2 separate regions of the Homo sapiens genome follow, and region 2 is linked to region 1. The links are contacts of gene promoters, found by promoter capture Hi-C in human tissues and cell types (Jung and others, 2019). All regions are on one chromosome and are shown on one strand. Each heading gives the region's core, a stretch centred on a gene start or on the middle of the fragment in contact. The rest is flanking DNA. Distances are from core to core; before and after follow the strand shown. Region 1 holds the start of CHAD (chondroadherin). Region 2 overlaps LOC101927253 (a long non-coding RNA gene).

Region 1 (5,052 bases), core at 275-2,774:
CCCTTCACGGAGCCCATGGGCACGATGCTTGCATCCTGGGGGAGCCCTTGGTCCCACGCCTACTGAGCTGCAATGGACTTGAGAATGCAGTGAATTGTGTCTGTGTGGATTGGGCAGGGCCATCCACCAGGGCCTCTATGGGGCATGGAGAATGTCTTCCTCAGGCATTTGCTTCCCCTCACTCCCCAGTCCCCCACTCCCCCTTAGCACACATGCACAGCCCCCACCAGGAACAGGGTCTCTTTGTGGGCCTGATCTGCCCAGCTCCTCTGGAAGGCTCCTCAATAAACAAACCTTCCTTTATGGGGTGGTAGGTTTACTGGAGACGGGAAAAACAGCAGAGGAGGGGTGGAAGGCCCAACAGGAAGAGGTGGCTGCTGCTCACAGTTGGGGGTTTGGAAGCACTGGAGATGGCCCTAGGGGGCCTTTTGTGGGGCCAGGGCAGTCCCACTCCTTTTATATGTAAGAATCCTAGGAGGGCAGTGGTCGAGACTGGCAGCAGACAGGGATTAGGGTAGGGATGTGACAAGGCGAGGAAGGGAGGTGGCAGAGCTGCTCACCTTGGAGATAGCCAGAGGGACAGGGAACCTGGGGACGGGGGATGGTGCCAGCTGTGGCCCTGGCTCCTGGGGCCTCCAGGAAGGGAAGAAGGAACCAGGGCAGAGCCCACAGCCAGGAGCTCACCTTCTCCAGGTTGGTGTTGTCCAGCCAGAGGGTCTCCAGGTATCTGCCAAAGGACTGGAAGGCATTGTCCGGGATGCTTTTCAGGGGGTTGTGGGACAGCTTCAGCTCCTCCACCACCCGTAGCTTGCTCAGGGCAGCTGAGGGGTAGCTGGACAGCTGGTTCCTGTCCACGTGGAATTTGGCGAGGTTCTCCACGTCGTCCAGGGCCCCGGGCTGCAGGGAGCTCAACGCGTTTTCCGACAGGTAGAGCCAGCGCAGGTCCTTGGCTCCCTGGAAGGCGCCTGCGCGCAGCTCACGGATCTTGTTGTTGTTGAGCTGCAAGATGAAGAGGTTGACCAGCGGGGAGAGCAACCCCCGGGGCAGCTCAGTGACCTTGTTGTGGTCCAGGTAGAGGTAGGTCAGCTCGGTCAGGTCGTCGAAGGCACCTGCGCGCAGCACGCGGATGTCGTTATGGGACAGGTACAAGTAGATAAGTTGCTTGAGGCCGCGGAAGGCACCGGCGGCCACCTCGCGGATCTGGCAGTGCTGCAGGTGCAATGACACGAGGTTCGGCATGGCCCGGAACGAATTGGCAGCCAGCACCGGGAAGTTGTTGCGCTGTAGGTTGAGCAGCTTGGTCTTCTCTGACACCTTGGGGATCTTCTGCAGCCCCACCTTGTCGCAGATGACGTGCTGCAGGTCGCTGTGGCAGTGGCAGTTCTGGGGGCAGGCGGCCAGCGCCGGCAGCAGACCAGCCAGGAGGCCGAGGCTGAGCAAGAGCATTGGGCGGACCATGGCTGGGACGCCTGGGGCCGGGGCTGGGGGCAGCAGCGGCGGCGGGGCGCGGGCAGCGGCGAGTCCTAGGCGCTCGGGTCTGCCGCCCTCTTTATACGGTGGCCCTGACCGCAGCCGGCAGCCGAGCCAGCTCCTACGTGGAGCATCGAGGCCACTGGGCTTAACTCGCTCGCGCCCAGAGATGCGCCCCCGCCCTCCACGGGGAAGGGGGCGGGGCCGTTCCCCCAGCCGGCTACCGTGCATGAGGGGGTGGGACCGTGGCCCCCGAGCCCCGAGCCCTGAGCCCCGGCTGTAGCCCCCCGCTCTCCTATGGTGCTCCTCTGCCTACCGCCTTTCCCGGGGCTTTTCTGGGAAGGGGGAATAGTTATGTCTGGAGCCCCGAGTTTACATCGGAGAGAGGGAGGCGTTCCCTCAACTTATTTGTTTGCTCAGGTTTGAGCCTCCACGCCGCGCCATCCACACACGCTCGGCCGGGTGCCCTGGATGCGAGGCGGGAGGAAGCGGGGCCGGACAGCTGGATGCGTCTCCCTGCGGTGGGCCAGCTGCCTGCGCTTTAAAGGGGCGCTTGTGCGGCGCCTGCCGAGCGTGAGAGCCGCCCCGGCGTCGGTCTCCCACTTCAGACTCGACGCGCCGAAGCTGGCCCTGGGTAGACCCGAGCTCCTTCCCCACCCTCGGGCGCGCCCCCACCCCTCTCTTCCAACCCCGCTTGCGTTTCTGTCGCCGGCGCCCTCATCCCCTTTTTCCACCGCTGAAGGCTAAGCAGAGAAGTGGGAAGTGGGGGAGAGTGGCCCACAGGAATGGCAAACACACCTGGAAACCACAGGCCACAAGCACAGTCGCACCATCCCCCCTCCTTCATCGCCCCGAAATATCTCCATCCCTCATCCCCAACCCTAGTGGTCAGGACCCGCCCCTGAGGGGTCTCAGGGTGGCGGCTGAGTGGCGCCGAGGTGTACTTGGCAGATGCCACATTCGGGCGGTGGCCCCAGGACTGTGAGGAGGGGTGCGGGAGGGGGTGGGGCAGGTCGAGGGACCAGCCCTGGACGGCTCTGGCTGCCAGACCCTAAGTTCTGTGGGCAGTCCCGCCCCAGCCCGCCAGATTTCTGTGTGCCCACTTGCCAGCCACGATGTCCGGATTCCTGTGGAAAGGGGAGGGTGAGCAGGCAGGGTCACAGCTCTGGCCTCAGGGTGAGCTCCAAGCTGCCTGGCACAGGATATTGTCTGTGATGAGGGGTGGAAGGAGAAACCAGAACCCACATTGAACCAAACCCCAGCCGTGCCAGAGCCAGAGCAGCTGATATGGGGGAAGCTTGGTGCAGGGAGGAGGATGGATGAGATCTGGTATCCGTTGATTAAAGGGGACCTAGGATACGGGGTAACTAGCCTCTCTTCCCTTACCCAGTACCCTCGTGTTGGGGCCTGGTTTCCAGGGCCTGCCCTTTTCCCAAACCTCTCTGCCCCTTGCCTCTAGGATAGGAGGGTCATACTTGGCCTAGACCATTCCTTGATGGTATTTAGGCTTCTCCAAGGCTGGCTTCTGGTTTTTCTGTTGCTCAGGCTTTCCAACCACTGGAAATGGGGGAGGTGGGGTGGGGGTACCACTGGTTTTTAAAATCACTGCTTAGGTTGTTTTTTTATTTTGATGGAAATAAATTCACGGGAAACTCTCCAGAGCTTGGGGGACGCCTGCCCCAAGGCCAGGCACTTGTTCAGGGTTTGCAGAATGCGGGGGTGGGGTTGTGTCTGTGCCACTCCTAGCTGGGCCAAGGCAGGCTGGCTTTCTCATCAAGTTTATGGGGCCTTCAGCTTGGAAGGGAGGAGCCGGGGATGTGGCCTGAAATCAGGAAGGTGGGGTTAAGGCAGCCAGGGGATGGGGGGAGAAGTGTGGGGTGTTGGTAATACCGGAGCCACAGGCACAGACAGGTGGCTGCTCCAGGGAAACGGGGCACTGAGAGAGCTCCAGCTGGAAGAGAATGGTGTCCCTGCTCTCAATTTTCTTTCAGATCTGGGGCCCTGCAGAGATCTAGTCTGCTCACTCCCAGCACCTCTGCCTCCTGACCCCAGGCCCCTACCAATGATGTCTCTGTTTCCACCATTCGGCTGCCCTCCACTTTCCCTTTTCTTTTATGAATTCCTTCCCATTTCCTCAGATAGCTCACCTGATCCCTCTGCACGTGCTGAGCCCTCTTCAAACACCCTTTCTGGACCCTCTAGGTTGCTTATGGAACCACAGAGAACAGTCCCGTGACATTCGCGCACTTCCCTGAGGACACTGTGGAGCAGAAGGCAGAAAGCGTGGGCAGAATTATGCCTCACACGGAGGTGAGCCCCTGACCAAGACTCCAAAGTCCCACCTCCCGTCACCCAGCTGGGGTGCACCCAGCTGGGACATCGGTTGCTTTCAGTGAGAGAGTCAAATGGCTCACTCAGGATGCCTAGAGCCCCCCAGCAGCAGGGGTGTGCTAGGCCTGGCCCGGAGTGTTCTCTGTGGGCTAAGCATGAAAGGGGAAGAGCTGGAACAGTGGCTGTGAGCGGCTGCCAGCTGAACTTCTCCGCGGCCTCCCTTCCTGTCTGAGGTGTGTTTTTGCCAAGCCCACTGTCTGTTTCAGGGCAGCCAGGGTAGCCTCAAAGAGGAGCCAGAGCACAGAGAGTTTTCCTACACAGCTTCTTTTCCTCCAGTGGTGCTCGCCTCTCGCTTTAGCAGAGTTCTTCTTCTTGCTTGGCGTAAACACTTCATTTCCCAAGCAGCCTATCCCTTTGGGGCGGTCCCTTTGCCCCTCAAAGGTTGCCCCAGAGTGCACCTGAATCTCAAATGCCCAGCCATGCCTCCTTTCCTGCTCCAACACTGGGGCTGTGCCAGCTGGCTCCTGATTTCCCCTGCACCCTTCTGCTCCCGCCCCTGGGGGATCGCTGCCCCCGTGCACAAGCAGCTGCTTCCCCTGGGGCTGACCGCTGTCCTGGCGTGAATCTGCCCTGCCCTCCCGCCAGAGCAACCATGTACCCAGGGATTGAGTAGGGATGTGAGCCTCCTCCCGTGTGTGCTACAGCTGCACTGCCACTGTCACTAAGATGCCCACCTGGAAGGGAAACAGGGGCAGGCATCACTCACCCCATTTCACGGACACAGACACTGAGGCACACAGAGGCTCAGCTTTCCTTGGCACGGTGGCCGTGGCTCTTTTCTCTACCAGGCTTTCAGACTCTGTCTCTCCTGTTCACATGGTGTTGCCATGCCACCCTGTTTGGCTTATTTGCTGCTTAATGGGAAGTAAGAGGAGACTCCCTTCTCCTCTGCACGGTTTATAATTCTTCAGCTGGCTCTGCAGTCCACAAACCTCTTTCTTTGCAGCAGCTGCCTGCCCACTCTGTTTCCTCAGCCCTCCCAGCCTGGGACTCAGCTCTTCTTTCATGCCCAGCTCAGGTCTCTCACTGGCTTTGGGTCGACTCTAGCCTTTGTCTCCCTTCTCTGGATGGGGATAAGCAGAGCCAGGGGGCCTCATTCCAGGCAGTTGGGTTGGGGGGTTGGGGGCAGGCAAAGCTCTCTCCATTTCCAAGGACCACCTATCCTGAAGCAAGAGGATAGGAAGCCCCAAC
Region 2 (5,224 bases), core at 2,334-4,833, 160 kb after region 1:
TGCCAATCAGGAAGGGTATTCAGAGCCAAAGGGGAAGTCTAGGCAGAGGCGGGGAGGCGTGAAGGAGCCAGCTCAGTGAGCAGAGATGGCCTGGCTTCTCTCATATCCCAGGAGGCAGGGGCTGCAGAGAGAGCGATTCTTGCAGGCTTAGGGGAGACCAGAGCATGGGGGAGGGAAGACAGGGTTTAGTGGGGAGAGAGGAGGCATGGTGGACAACAGAGGTCAGGCTGCAATGACCCCTATCTACTAGTAAGAGCGGCTACCAGGACCTCTGCTTAGGATAGTCCTGCTGTGCCTGGTGGTGGTGGGCAGGGGGCACAGCCAGCTTGACAGGAGGGCTAGTCCATGCTGGAGAGGAGACTGCTGGGCTGAGCCCTCCCCCACCCCATATAGGCAGCAATAAGGACTGACTCCTTGGACGTTCAGGGTCTGGGCAGCCGGGAAGACCTGCTGGCAGAGGTGAGTGGGCCCTCCCCGCCCCTGGCCCGGGCCTACTCTTTCTGGGGCCAGTCAAGTACCCAGGCACAGCAGCACTCCCGCAGCCACAGCAAGATCTCCAAGCACATGACCCCGCCAGCCCCTTGCCCAGGCCCAGAACCCAACTGGGGCAAGGGCCCTCCAGAGACCAGAAGCAGCTTAGAGTTGGACACGGAGCTGAGCTGGATTTCAGGAGACCTCCTGCCCCCTGGCGGCCAGGAGGAGCCCCCATCCCCACGGGACCTGAAGAAGTGCTACAGCGTGGAGGCCCAGAGCTGCCAGCGCCGGCCTACGTCCTGGCTGGATGAGCAGAGGAGACACTCTATCGCCGTCAGCTGCCTGGACAGCGGCTCCCAACCCCACCTGGGCACAGACCCCTCTAACCTTGGGGGCCAGCCTCTTGGGGGGCCTGGGAGCCGGCCCAAGAAAAAACTCAGCCCGCCTAGTATCACCATAGACCCCCCCGAGAGCCAAGGTCCTCGGACCCCGCCCAGCCCTGGTATCTGCCTCCGGAGGAGGGCTCCGTCCAGCGACTCCAAGGATCCCTTGGCCTCTGGCCCCCCTGACAGCATGGCTGCCTCGCCCTCCCCAAAGAAAGATGTGCTGAGTCTCTCCGGTTTATCCTCTGACCCAGCAGACCTGGACCCCTGAGTCCTGCCCCACTTTCCCACTCACCTTTCTCCACTGGGTGCCAAGTCCTAGCTCCTCCTCCTGGGCTATATTCCTGACAAAAGTTCCATATAGACACCAAGGAGGCGGAGGCGCTCCTCCCTGCCTCAGTGGCTCTGGGTACCTGCAAGCAGAACTTCCAAAGAGAGTTAAAAGCAGCAGCCCCGGCAACTCTGGCTCCAGGCAGAAGGAGAGGCCCGGTGCAGCTGAGGTTCCCGACACCAGAAGCTGTTGGGAGAAAGCAATACGTTTGTGCAGAATCTCTATGTATATTCTATTTTATTAAATTAATTGAATCTAGTATATGCGGGATGTACGACATTTTGTGACTGAAGAGACTTGTTTCCTTCTACTTTTATGTGTCTCAGAATATTTTTGAGGCGAAGGCGTCTGTCTCTTGGCTATTTTAACCTAAAATAACAGTCTAGTTATATTCCCTCTTCTTGCAAAGCACAAGCTGGGACCGCGAGCACATTGCAGCCCCAACGGTGGCCCATCTTCAGCGGAGAGCGAGAACCATTTTGGAAACTGTAATGTAACTTATTTTTTCCTTTAACCTCGTCATCATTTTCTGTAGGGAAAAAAAAAAGAAAAAGAAAAAATGAGATTTTACAAGTGAAATGGAACCTTTTTATATATACATACATACATATCTATCTATCTATCTATATATATATAAAATAAAGTAATTTTCCTAAATAAAAAGCTAATCACGGTCCAGAGTAAAAGCAAAAGGGATGGAGAGTTAGGCACGTCCAGATGGCATTGATGAGAGAGAGATCCTGGAGATGGGGAGTGGGCGGCGGGGAGGGAAGCTTCAGGGCTGCCTCTTTGTGTGTGTATGAGTGTGTATGTGTTTGTGTATATGAGTGCGTGTGTGTATATGAGTGTGAGAGTGTGTGTGTCTGAGAGTGAGAGAACCTGAACCCCTTGCTGTGGAAGGCTGCACCTCTAGCCTGCCCTCCCCAGCCGTGAAGGAGAGGAGGAGCCCCTCCGCCTGGTGCAGGCTGGGGAGGCAGGGTCTCTTCTGCTGCTATCAAAGCTTTACAGCTTCCTCTAGCTAGGCAGCTCAGTGAATGGGAGTAATTCCAGATTAACTCTTATTTCTGCTGACAGCTATCAGCCGCACATTGAAAGCTGGAAATTGGCATAATGAAGCTGTTTTGGTTAATGGGGCCGACTGAGGCTGGGGGAGGTTGCCTCAGAGGCTGCAGATCTGGATCTGTGGGTTGGTGGGGGAGGGGGGAAGTGTTTCTGGGTTTTCCTTCCTGAAGCTTCAGCACGGATTTGCCACACTTCTGGCTGGATGCGTGACCTGAGCTGTCTGGACTTCAGCCTCCTGCCTTGGGGGCGGGCTTAGCTGACTGGCATTACAGGCACTGTCCGATGGGGACCTCGTCCACCTGCCCGCAATGGAATTAAACCGTGTCAACGGAGTGGGCTGTGCTTCCTGAGGATGAGAGTCCAGGGCTGGGCGTCCAGAGGCAACCTCCTGGTGGAGGTGGTAGGGTCAGAGGCCAGGTGCTGAGTGGGGAGCTGGCCCCCTGGGCGGTGATGAGCGAGCGCTCAAGATGTTTACATGCACTGCTGCTGCTGCCTGCCTAGCGGGAGCCAGTGGAGGAGGGAGGTGTGAAGGTGGCCAGGGGCAGGCAGACAGGAAGAGGGGGAGTGGCGTGGCCCAGGCCACCTGTCTGGTGCTACTGCAGACAATATTCTCTTGTCTGAAATCTTGGTGCCAAGAGGTGGTGACCATGGGTCCAGCCAGCCTGTCACCTAGCCACCTCCCAAACATCTGTCCCAATCCCACTCCCTTGAACAGCCCCCTCCCCTCGCCCCCAGGGCCTTCAAACCCCAGGATTGGATTGGGTTTTTGAAACCTCAGTGGCAACGCTCGCTCACAAACCGTCTGATCCGGTCAACTGGGAGCTGGGGGCACCAGGCTGCCGGGCGAGTGGACCTGGAGGCGTTGTCCAGCATTGTTTTCTAAGCTGGGTGAGAGCTTTTCTCATTGCTCTTTTGGACAGAACTCATACCGCTCCTTGAAGCCAAAGCCTGGTTTTATCCTTTTAGGGTGTGCAATAATGTCAAACTTTTTCCTCTGGCCTCCTTGGGTGGGGAGAGGGAGTGCTTGTAGGAGCTGCCATTTAAGATAAAAAAAGCAAAGCTGTACAAAATTCCTAGAGTTCTGTCACCTGGATCTGCAGACTAAGCTTTTATATTTTTGTAGAATTCTATAGCTGTCTATTCCCTAATGACGTTGGAGGGTATGGGGAGGGGGTTCTGGGATCTTTCATTCTCCTAGTGGTTAGAAGATTCTGGGTCAAGGTGAAGCCAGAGAGCTGGACTCCTACCCCTCCCCACTCTTCCAGCACCCCCTCTCCCCGCTCCCGACCACCAGCCCAGCAGCACTAGAGTACTGGAGAGTTGCTTAGGTTGAGTCTTAGCATGCCTGGTTCTTTGTGCGTTCCTCTTCCCCTGGCCTCCTCTTCCCAGTAGGGACCAAGGAATTTGGGGTGAACTTACTATGCTTTTGGGTTGCTCTGTAGAGATCTGCAGGGACCAGCCCAGTGAAAACAAAAAGGTTCCCCTATTCCCTCCCCAGCAGCCCTCTCTGTGGCCTGGAGGGTTTCTCTGGAAGAGGGCAGTGCCTGGAGGGGAGCCTCTGGATAGTGATGTGGAAATATTAACAACAGAGTCAAAGCGGGTATTTTGGGGTAGTCGGGGAGAAAACTGTGACCTCTCCCCCCAATGATGTAAAATCTTTATCAATGATGGAAACTGTTGTGTCTCATTAAAAGGGTTTTGAGGTGGAAAAGCAGCTGCCGCTGGATCTTAATAATAATATCAAACTGCTAACCTCATGCTGCTTGTCTGGGTGGTTATTTGATGCTGCTCTGGGATACATAAGGGGTGGGGGTAGGGGGTGGAGAAAATGAAGGAGGCTGGGATGGGGAGTGGATGGTGGGGGCAGCAGGTCTTGGATGAGGACTCCAGGGGCAGAATGGAACTGGCTAGGGGCTTCAGGGATGTGGGGGCTTTTAGAATTAGGAATATCTACCCTGGTGCCTTTGTCCTCAGCCTTCCCCTTCGGGGTTCAGAAGAAATTGTGACAGCGGCTGTAGGCCCCCACCTCAAGCTTGGCTGTTTCTGCTTCCTCCACCCCCAAGACTCCAGGAAAAGGTCTGTGTGGGGGTGGGGACTGGGAAGAGGAGTGAGCTGAGCTGGGGATAAAAACAAATCTGAGGCTCATATGCAGTCTCTCACTCCTCAACACACCCTAGCAAGGGAAGTCTGATTGCTATTTCTCCATGAGGCAGCGGGGTTCAGAGAGGTTAAGTGAATTGCCCGTGGTCACACAGCCAGGAGATGGCAGAGCTGAGATTTGACCCTACGTCTGGCCAACCTCCAGCCCACACTACTCCTGTCTCTTCTCAGTGTGGAGGAAATGGGGCACGATGGGAAGAATCCTGCTCAAAAAATGACTTGCTGGTGGGCGCTTTTCCAAAGTAGTCACATTCACGTTCATACAAATATGCACACGTGTTCCCCGCATGGCAAACTCAGAGGCTTAGAGAGGCCCCCAGCCTCCCACCTGGTGGGCCACCAGCTTTTGGCCATAGGGAATGGTGGTGAGAGGAGTTCAATCACAGGAGAAGGCATCCCTCAGCTCCAGGCGCTTGTCCAAGAGCTGGCCAAGGGTAGCTCTGCAATCACTGTGGGTTCCCAGGCTCCACCCTTCCGCAGCATAACGCTGCCCTTGAACCCCATGGTACCTGTTCTTTTCCCCATCCCGCCTTCTTCTCTCTTCCTCTCCTCTAACCCTGCCCTACCTAAACCTCACCCACTTTCCAAACAGCTTTCACTCCTATCTCCACCCTAGTCCCCACCTGCCACAGCCTGGTGCCCCATGGCCTATTTTCTCTTCCCTTGGGCCAGCTGAGCAGCCCGTGGAGTGGGGCTGGCAACAGCAGTGCAATGAGGGCATCAGACACCAGGTGGCGGCACAGGGCACCCTCACCTGGTGCCACCTGGTGCCCCTCCTGCAAAGGGACCAAGCCAGGGAGAGGGCACCAACACC

Evidence for each region. The method cuts DNA at HindIII sites, captures the fragments that hold promoters and counts their contacts. A contact is called where the count stands out against the background at its distance.
Region 2: a fragment that was not itself captured here is called in contact with the fragment with the promoter of CHAD in region 1 in 1 of the 25 tissues and cell types used here (spleen).

What each region holds. Positions count from the first base shown.
Region 1 is chr17:50,467,356-50,472,407 of GRCh38, forward strand. CHAD (chondroadherin) reads right to left here and starts at 1,525. Exons shown (of 4, transcript NM_001267.3): 1 at 685-1,525. The coding sequence starts at 1,458. It overlaps ACSF2 (acyl-CoA synthetase family member 2), which reads left to right. Exons shown (of 16, transcript NM_025149.6): 11 at 3,673-3,780. RefSeq lists enhancers at 482-1,440, 1,441-2,398. The HindIII fragment of the contact is 15,801 bases long and covers 1-4,699 here.
Region 2 is chr17:50,625,624-50,630,847 of GRCh38, forward strand. It overlaps LOC101927253 (a long non-coding RNA gene), which reads right to left. Exons shown (of 2, transcript XR_243718.2): 2 at 1,407-1,717. CACNA1G (calcium voltage-gated channel subunit alpha1 G) reads left to right here. Exons shown (of 38, transcript NM_018896.5): 38 at 394-1,851. The coding sequence ends at 1,128. Among named protein-coding and RNA genes, the nearest start is that of ABCC3, 6.6 kb to the right of the region's middle. RefSeq lists an enhancer at 1-698. The HindIII fragment of the contact is 3,018 bases long and covers 2,075-5,092 here.